Linked DNA regions of Homo sapiens: region 2 is linked to region 1. The links are contacts of gene promoters, found by promoter capture Hi-C in blood cells and fetal thymus (Javierre and others, 2016). All regions are on one chromosome and are shown on one strand. Each heading gives the region's core, a stretch centred on a gene start or on the middle of the fragment in contact. The rest is flanking DNA. Distances are from core to core; before and after follow the strand shown. Region 1 holds the start of TGFB2 (transforming growth factor beta 2). Region 2 has its middle 190 kb from the start of LYPLAL1.

Region 1 (4,401 bases), core at 520-3,019:
TTGAGAGCTCCGGGCAGAGCTAAACCTCAGGGGATGGAAGTCAAAATAAGTACTTACTTTCGGAGGGGAAGAAGGGCGGCATGTCTATTTTGTAAACCTCCTTGGCGTAGTACTCTTCGTCGCTCCTCTCGCGCTCGCAGGCGGCCGCCCTCCGGCTCGCCTTCTCCTGGAGCAAGTCCCTGGTGCTGTTGTAGATGGAAATCACCTCCGGGGGGACTTCCTCGGGCTCAGGATAGTCTTCTGGGGGACTGGTGAGCTTCAGCTTGCTCAGGATCTGCCCGCGGATCGCCTCGATCCTCTTGCGCATGAACTGGTCCATATCGAGTGTGCTGCAGGTAGACAGGCTGAGCGCGACCGTGACCAGATGCAGGATCAGAAAAGCGCTCAGCACACAGTAGTGCATTTTTTAAAAAAGTGGAAAAAAAAGTTGTTTTTAAAAGTCAGAATAAAAAAAAGAAATCAACAATTCTCAAAGTATAGATCAAGGAGAGTTGTTTGGTTTTTTGTTGTTGTTGTTTTTGATGCGAAACTTTTGCAAACAATCTAGTCAATGCCCAACAGAAAAACGTATCCTGCTTGAATTCCTTTAAAAAGAAAAGGCCAGTAGTTCCAAAAGTGGAAATATTAATACGGGACGGGCAGAGGGAACCCTGACTTTGGCGAGTAAGAAGAAAAAAATTCTTGGAGCAATGAGATGGGGAAAAAAAGAGACGAGTGGCTATTAAGTAGAAATAAATTTAAGAGGAGGAAGTGGAGTTCAGTGTGTCAGTCTCGGGTGCGGAGTGGCGGATCTGAACTCGGCTCCTCCGGCCAAAAGGGAAGAGATGAAAAGGTCCCGGGGCTGGCAGCTGGCGAACTGACGGGAGGGGCGCCGGGAGCGCGGTGAGGGGGGCCGCCGAGGCTGACCTGGGCTGAAATTTATATATTTAAAGAAGGAGCGGTTCGGTCCTGCCTTCCACTGCGGCGCTGAGAGCAGGAGCAGCAGCAGCTCCGGAGCAGAGAAGCGCACACGTGTGTGCGTGCGTGTGTGTGTGTGTGTGTGTGTGTGCGTGTGCGCGCGCTGGGGGCGAGCCCAGCGCACCGCGGGGAGGAGGGTGCGCTTCGCAGGGCGCTCGGTACTCGGTCGGGTGCCGCAGGGGCCGCAGAGGCTGCTGAGGCGGCGCGGATCCTGCTCTGGGAGCTGCGCTCCGTGGCCTACACCCTGGCGGGCGCGCGCTGACCCGCTTGGTTACTCCACGTTGCTGCCGCCGCCGCTTGCAAACGCTTCCAGCCTCCAGCTCCCTCCTTCTCCTGCTCCTCCTTCTCTTGCTCCAAACGCCAACCCAGCCACAGACGATCAGCCGTCGCGGTTGCGTTCACCCCCTGCGGATCACAACGGCAGCCCTTGCGACACCCTGGCTGGGGAGTTTTATTCCTGAGGGGGTTGCGCAGGGGCTCCCTTGGACTCCCACCCTTTCCCAACCTCTGCTGGCTTCTCCCCAACGTGGAATTGCTCGCTTAGGGTAGGTAGGCACTTGCCACCCTAAAATAGATCCTCTCTGTCTCCTCCTGTCTGCAGCCGGGCAGCCCCTCAGTTTGTTCCTGGATGACTCCCTAGACCGTCAGGCTAATATTCTCCATCCCCCTCCCCTGCCTCTTTCACTTGCGCTCTCGCTCTGCTGTCTCTTTCTCTCTTTCTCTTTCTATCTCTATCTCAATCTGTCTTTCTCTTGTCAGGAGCTTCTGGAGCTCCGCTCGGAGCGAACCTTCTGCTGCCAGCAGATAACATCACGATCTTGCCGGGGAGGGGAGATTTATAAGTTCTCTCTGAACCACGTGTCTGCCTTCAACAAAGTGACGTGCTAGGATTACAGTCAGAAGTCCTCTCGTTACTTAGACCACGAGCTCTCCCCGAACCGTTGAGGGAGTGTGGAAATGAGGACCGCTGTGGGTAAGGGAGGAAGGAGGTGGAATGTGCGCCCTGACAACAGTGATTTACGGTATTTACTTTCCAGTCATTTTGGACAGGTCTGTTGAAGGAAGGACAATCAAGTCTCCCGTTTTTACTTAGTGTAGCTCAGTCACAGCCTCCCAAGCTGAATCACTTGCTCTAGAAGGGAAGGCTTCCCTCCTGTATTATGTGTGCACACGCACCCCTATGGGAGGGAGCACTAGTCTACTCAGGGCCAGGCCAGTACTGAAGACATACCTTCCAATCTTTTAAATTCATGTCCTACCTCTTATTTTCTGGGATACCTTAGCAGGTTGCCATCCCAGAATTTATTTTGTTAGTTTGTTGTTTACAATGTACCCCTCTGTTTGTGAACTGCTGGAAAACAGAGATCCATCAATTTTACCTAAAGAATAAGGTATACTTGTTTGTTTTACTGATTTGAATGAATGGTCACCTTTATAATTTGCTGCCTAAGCCACTTCTTGTATGGCTTTCTTCTTCACCTTCTTGCTAGGCTAAACATTATCAACCAACTTCATTCTTTCCATAGCATTAATCCAGGAAGCTGGAATTTTAAGTGTTTGATGTCTACTGTTCTACACTACTCATAACTTGACATTTTCAATTTCAACTAAGTCTAAATTAGATGAATACAAGAATAACTCTTACCACTGTTCCACCTTCCCTTTTTCTTTTATTTTACCTTTAGTTACTCAAAGTCAACATTTTCATTTCGGCATGACTCTGCAGCCATACTGACCAGACAGATGATTTAAACTGGAAACTCTGTTGAATGTACTCCCAAACCCAAGATCTCTATACTGTTCTCTACTTCAGATGTTCCTGAGTTCAGAAAAGTCACAAAGAACTTTCTATCACTTTTGGAATTTATACTTCAGTTGTGTATGGGGCCTAGGTTATTAGTAGAGCACTGAATAAATAAAATAATAATAGCTAACATATACTACACTTAGTAATTTGATGTGTGTTGTGTATGGTCATTTAATCTTCACTATGAACCTATAAAGTGGGTCTTATTATCCATATCTGGCAGATGAGGAGACTGAGGTACAAAGAAGTTAAGTACTTTGTTCGAGACCACAGTAAGTGGTAGAGCTGGATTTTTGCAGTCAGGATCCACTATGTTCTTACCTACTATGTACTTCTGAGAAACAATGGTCCCAGAATATGTTCTGACAAACAGGAATTCTGGAGTCAAACAAGTTTGGGAGATACTGGGTACTCTCCTGTCCTCTTAGATTCCTCATTCTGGAACATTATCATGTTAAAGGCTCTGAAACTCCTGTAGAAGAGAAAACCTTTTCACTCTTTTAACCCAGCATTTTCCAAACTCCCTTGAATACAGAATTTTTTCCATTATCACACATTGAAAAACTCTGGAATAAAATAATTGTTCCAACCCACTTCTGAATAATTCTAAAAATTATGTATAAATCAGCACCAGCAGGTTCCTTTCCTTGATACCAGTTTTGAGTTGAAGCAAAGCTACCATCCCAGTAGCCCAAGAAAAAGATAATCAAGAGGCGCTACTGTCAGACTAGTAGTTTCATCCAGTTAGGTCCTCCCTCTGAGTTCAGTTTGAGAACTGCAGTAGGCTAGCTCTACAGATTGGACAAAAAGTGAATATTCTTACACCTGTGGCCATTATAGACACAGAGCAGGAGCTCCAAACCAGAGCTACTGAGAGAAGATGCTGCTGTGGAATATGGCTGGTTACCTGAATTAGCTATCACTGTATTTTGCTGAGGATACAGGTTCAGCTTCCACAAGCCAGTGAGCATCTTTCATGTTTATAGACAACCTTCTTGGTACAGACACTGATGCACCTTAAGTAGATTCAGATTAGAGTGTGGATAGAGTAGCAAAAGTTCATTTACATCACTTCTAGGAAAACAGCGCAAGCCATAAATTCTGATGGCCACCCCTCTTCCTGACATAGACATACACACTTTTGTTCATAATACTTAGTTTACTGAGTACCTATTGCTCACTTAACAACTCCTTAGACCTGAGACCCCTGACTTACTCATAAGAGGCTACTTTAATTTCCCCAAAGCCCAGGAGGGTAAGACGGGAGGTATTGGTAAAAGCTTCTGGAATGGGTAAGTGCAGTAAGTGAGTATAGCAGGAGAGGAGGAGCCCCTTTCCACCTCTCAAATGATCAGTTCTTTGAAGACCTAACCGGCAAGATTGCTAGAGCTGTCTCCCTGGTAACCGTAAATGAATCATTTCTTCTATTAAATGGCTCTTATAATGCCTTTTCATCTCTATATTTAATGGAGGTCTTATGTGCCGGGGTCTCTACAGTCTTCATGGTAAAAGGGTATTTAAATGATATACACCCATCTTGATTACTTCAAGGAGGCAGGAGAGCACAGTGGTTTAAAGGGCAGGCTCCAGTCATGGTTTTTTGGGTTCAGATTTCTGTCACTTTCTGGCTTTGTGAT
Region 2 (4,074 bases), core at 635-3,134, 1.0 Mb before region 1:
AGCATTGGCTGAAAATCACTTAAATGGAGATCCAGTCGACCTCCTTTCACCTTGTCTAACTGAGGATCACTTACTGATCCTTTAAAAAAAAGATTCTAGAATCACCTCCTTGTGAATCCTTTCCAATACCTCTTAGTCAGTTGATTTATCCCTCTTCTGGACTATCTTAGCACTTTGTACATATCTTCATCATACCTTTGCTGCAGCACTGTTGTATTGTGCTGCTATGCTTTCAAATATAGGATATATCAATAGTATGACAAAATAATTAAAAAAATCTGATGTAACTATCAGATTTTCCACCAAACACAAGGAAAAGAATCCAAATAGGTCGTTTAAATACTTCCGAATAAAGAAACACAGTTTAACTAAATTTTTAATCTTCTGACCTATCAGGTGATTGTATCATAGTGGTTTCATAAAGACTTAGCTCAAATAGGCAAGTAACTTGACTTTTGATGGAGTGTATAAAAATGATATCCTGATTATCTAGAAGTTTAAAATTAAAGACTCACTATATTTTATGTAATTCCAATACAAATTCACTTATTAATAAATCCAAATACAGACTGTTTGATTCTTCTGCAGAAGTGATATATTTCTTTATTTTATTTAAATCTCAGATTATCTGTTTATTTCCCCAAAAAATATTTATTGAATCTCTCCTCTGTGCCTGCCACACTATGGAGTTTGCATTCTATTAATGGAAAACAAACTAAAAAGTAATCACAAAGTCAAGATCGGATAGTGATGAAGTCTCTGAAGAGACTACAAACAACAAGATGCGAAAAAGAGTGGGGAGTAGTGGCTACATTAGAGAGATTAATCAGGAAAGGCATATTCTGGAGTGATACAAAGGAGCCAGCTATGGAAACTCAAGATCAAAGGCTAGAACGCAAAGGTCAAAATGCAGGAAACAGAGTGTATTAGAGAAATGGAAAATAGGCAGATTTTGGGAGTTAAGATGATTTTGACTACAAGTAACAGAACACTCAACTCACTCGACACATTTAAATACACACATGTACATATACACAGTAAGGAGCATAGATTATCATACTTAAGAAAGTAGAGCTAGACTTGGGTTATTGCGTTGTTCAATGACATTATGAAGAATTGGAGTCCTTTCAATATTTCATGCACCATATTCAGCCTGTCATCTTTGTCCTTTGGCTAGATCCCCTCAGGGTCCCAAGATAAATTAATAGTTCTAGCTGGTCATCACATGCAGAACAGGGATGTTTTGCTGAAGAAGAGATTATCTCTGCTTCTTTCTTTCTTTTTTAAGTGGGAGAACTTTTCAAGAAGCCTTCAGCAGACTTCCCCTGTGGCTCACTGCATAGAATCATACCACATTTCAGGGCCTAAGAAAATTACTTTCCAGGAGCCTGGAATTACCATGATGAGTTTGCTTCAGTCAGAATTTTCCCCACTAAACTGTGTATATCCAGATATTACCTTCACTGAGTACTGAGTATGAGAAGAAAGTTAGACTTTTGCTAGTAAAGAAGAAAGGCAGCCTGGGCCTGGGTTGCCAACCATCAGAGTCTGCCTCAGCAGGTCAGTGTGGCTAGAATTATGTGAATGAGAGAATGAGTGGTTCAAAATGACTTTGAAGTGGTAGACAAGGATCAGTCTATTTAGGGCCTTCTAGGTTCTGGGAAGAAGAATAAGTTTTACCTACTTTAAGTAAAATGGAAAGCCACTGGACAAAAATAACATGATCAGGTTTACAGTTTTACAAGTTCCTCTGCAGATCAGCACTGTTTAATACAAATATGATGTAAGCTACATAGATAATTTTCTGTTTTTAATAGCTATGTCAAAAAAAGGTAAAAGAAAATGGTGAAAATATTTTAATATGTTGTATTTAACCCATATCCCCAAATGTTATCATTTCAACATTTAATCAATATAAAAAATCTATAAAATATTTTACGTACTGTGTTTGGTATTAACTCTTCAAAATCTAGTGTTTACTAGGCATATTTCAAGTGCTAAATAGTGGCTGGTTTATTAGACAGTGCAAGAGTAGATAATTGATTATGAAGAGGAAAGAGAGGAAGCAGGGAATAGACATTCCTAGCAACAGTTTCAGTGACCTGGAAGATTAACTTACTTAAATACTTCCCCTCACAATAGTGCTGGATAAATTTTATTTTTAAACCTTTTTGGCCACGTTTTTAATTCTTACATAGGTAGGCTTGTTTGGTTTGTGTAGCCTTTGATTTTTAAAAACAATGAAGACGGTGGTATTGTGTAGGCACAATCGGAGTTCTACAATGAAGTGTGTTAAAAGGAAAAACATATATAGCAATAAAAAGTTTCTTTGTTATTTTTTTTTTTGCATTCATCCATCTATCCCCTTCCTGCCTGACCTCATGCCTGAGCAATCACAATAGCCTCTTGAATAAATTTTCCTGAGTCTAGTGTTTGTTTCCTTCCTCTAACCTCTCCTGAGTATGACTGGTTGATCTCCCTAAAATAAAACTTTGGTGTTACTCCTCTTACTAAAATAGAACAAAACTCACTACTTGTACAATAAAACTTAGCTTTTTCACCAGGACTGCAAACGTCTTACACTATATCACTTTTCAACCATGGCTTTCATTGTTCCCTATACTCCGCTTTCATTTGGTCCAAATCTAACTACTTGCCATTTCCTGCAGGTACGTTGAGATTTGCCACTTCCGTACCCCATTCTGGGGTTCCTGCTTCCATTTGTCCTCCTGTGGCAAGTTTACTTTATCCTTCAAGGCTCTGCTTAAAGATTATTTTCCTTTATTACTAACATAAGAAATACTGTCTGCACCTTGGAAATCGTTGAGTTCTTCATTTACACAACTTTTGCACGTTTTAAAATGCTTAACCTATTCCAGAAACTCTGATAAGTTCTTTCCATGGGTTATCTCACTTTAAACTCTCAGCTGAAGGAGAGGAGTACTCTATTATTCCTATTTGACAAAGGAGCAAACGGGTCTTCAAGAGGTTATTTGTCTAAGATCACACAATTAGTAAATGGCAGAAATCATAGGAAGCCTAATTGCCTTTATGTCCAAAATGTCTATATCATTTTCATCCATATCACACAGTCAATGGGCTTGGAGTAGAGGTCTATACACCATTTCCTTGCTGGGTTACCTCGGACAAGTTGTTTCACATCTTTGGGTGTCAGAATAAGAAGATTTAGTAAAAGTTCTTGGAGTCCTCTTCCTAACATTCTATTAATCTATCAAAACGCAGAGGAGAGAGAACTTTCAAGAGGATTAACATTTAATTTTGGTATTCCCCAGTATGTTGCTGGTTTGAGAAAACTGGCCCAAACAGGGGGACAAAGCCAAGCATGCTGATCTTTCCAAATGCAGGAGAGATTAAATGTTTTAGAAGGGTATGATCTTACTTCTCAGAAATATAAAAATTGACACAGAAAGACAGCATTTGCCAAAACAGAATGTTTTTAAAATCAGAAGTTCTCTCCAAGCTCAATCCCTCTAAGACTCAAGTTCTTTTACCCCTCACTTTTGTCATGAATAATGTGAATAATAATTTTCTCTTAATAACACCTTTCTTCTGGAGGTCATCGTGTGTTACTATTTGAAAAGCAACTTTTCCTGTTTCTAAGAAATAAGGCCTCACTGAAAAAGCTCCTTGGACTTCTTGGACATCGGATCAACCTTTCTTGTGCACATATTTTAAAAATATGTGGCTAAGTGGAGTGTGAAGGAGCCCAAAGCCTGGATTTAGAGCCTGAGAAAAAAAGTGCAAGGTAAAGCACATTCCTACATTCTCTGAGCTCTCCACACTGAGAAATAGCTTGGGTTGTGCAGCAAACTGAAACACAGATGCACACACTCCCTAGCAAATATAGCTGTTCCAATAGGTGGTTTGAAAGAAAGATCTACCTTAATATTTATATCCAGTTAGGCTCTTGAAGTGAAAGGAAACACATCTGACAGATAAACTACACTATGAGGGACCTAGAACAGGTCTGAAAGAATCAACTAGTCCATTCCCCACCTCTGCTCAAATCTTTACAGTCCTTCGGTAAAAGAACATAGGGCATACATAGCCCAC

What was found. Contacts are between HindIII fragments. The CHiCAGO score rates a contact against its expected background, and 5 or more counts as called.
Region 2: a fragment that was not itself captured here is called in contact with the fragment with the promoter of TGFB2 in region 1 in 4 of 17 cell types (non-activated CD4 T cells, naive CD4 T cells, total CD4 T cells and 1 more); the score reaches 7.0 in non-activated CD4 T cells.

Annotation. Positions count from the first base shown.
Region 1 is chr1:218,342,704-218,347,104 of GRCh38, reverse strand. It overlaps TGFB2 (transforming growth factor beta 2), which reads right to left and starts at 1,769. Exons shown (of 7, transcript NM_003238.6): 1 at 58-1,769. The coding sequence starts at 403. TGFB2-AS1 (TGFB2 antisense RNA 1) reads left to right here and starts at 1,427. Exons shown (of 3, transcript NR_046268.1): 1 at 1,427-1,502; 2 at 1,717-1,930; 3 at 2,643-2,909. RefSeq lists enhancers at 1-220, 1,352-1,401 and a silencer at 1,782-1,841. The HindIII fragment of the contact is 5,586 bases long and covers 1-4,046 here.
Region 2 is chr1:219,361,224-219,365,297 of GRCh38, reverse strand. It overlaps a transcript of LYPLAL1 not described here. Among named protein-coding and RNA genes, the nearest start is that of LYPLAL1, 190 kb to the right of the region's middle. The HindIII fragment of the contact is 6,407 bases long and covers 1-4,074 here.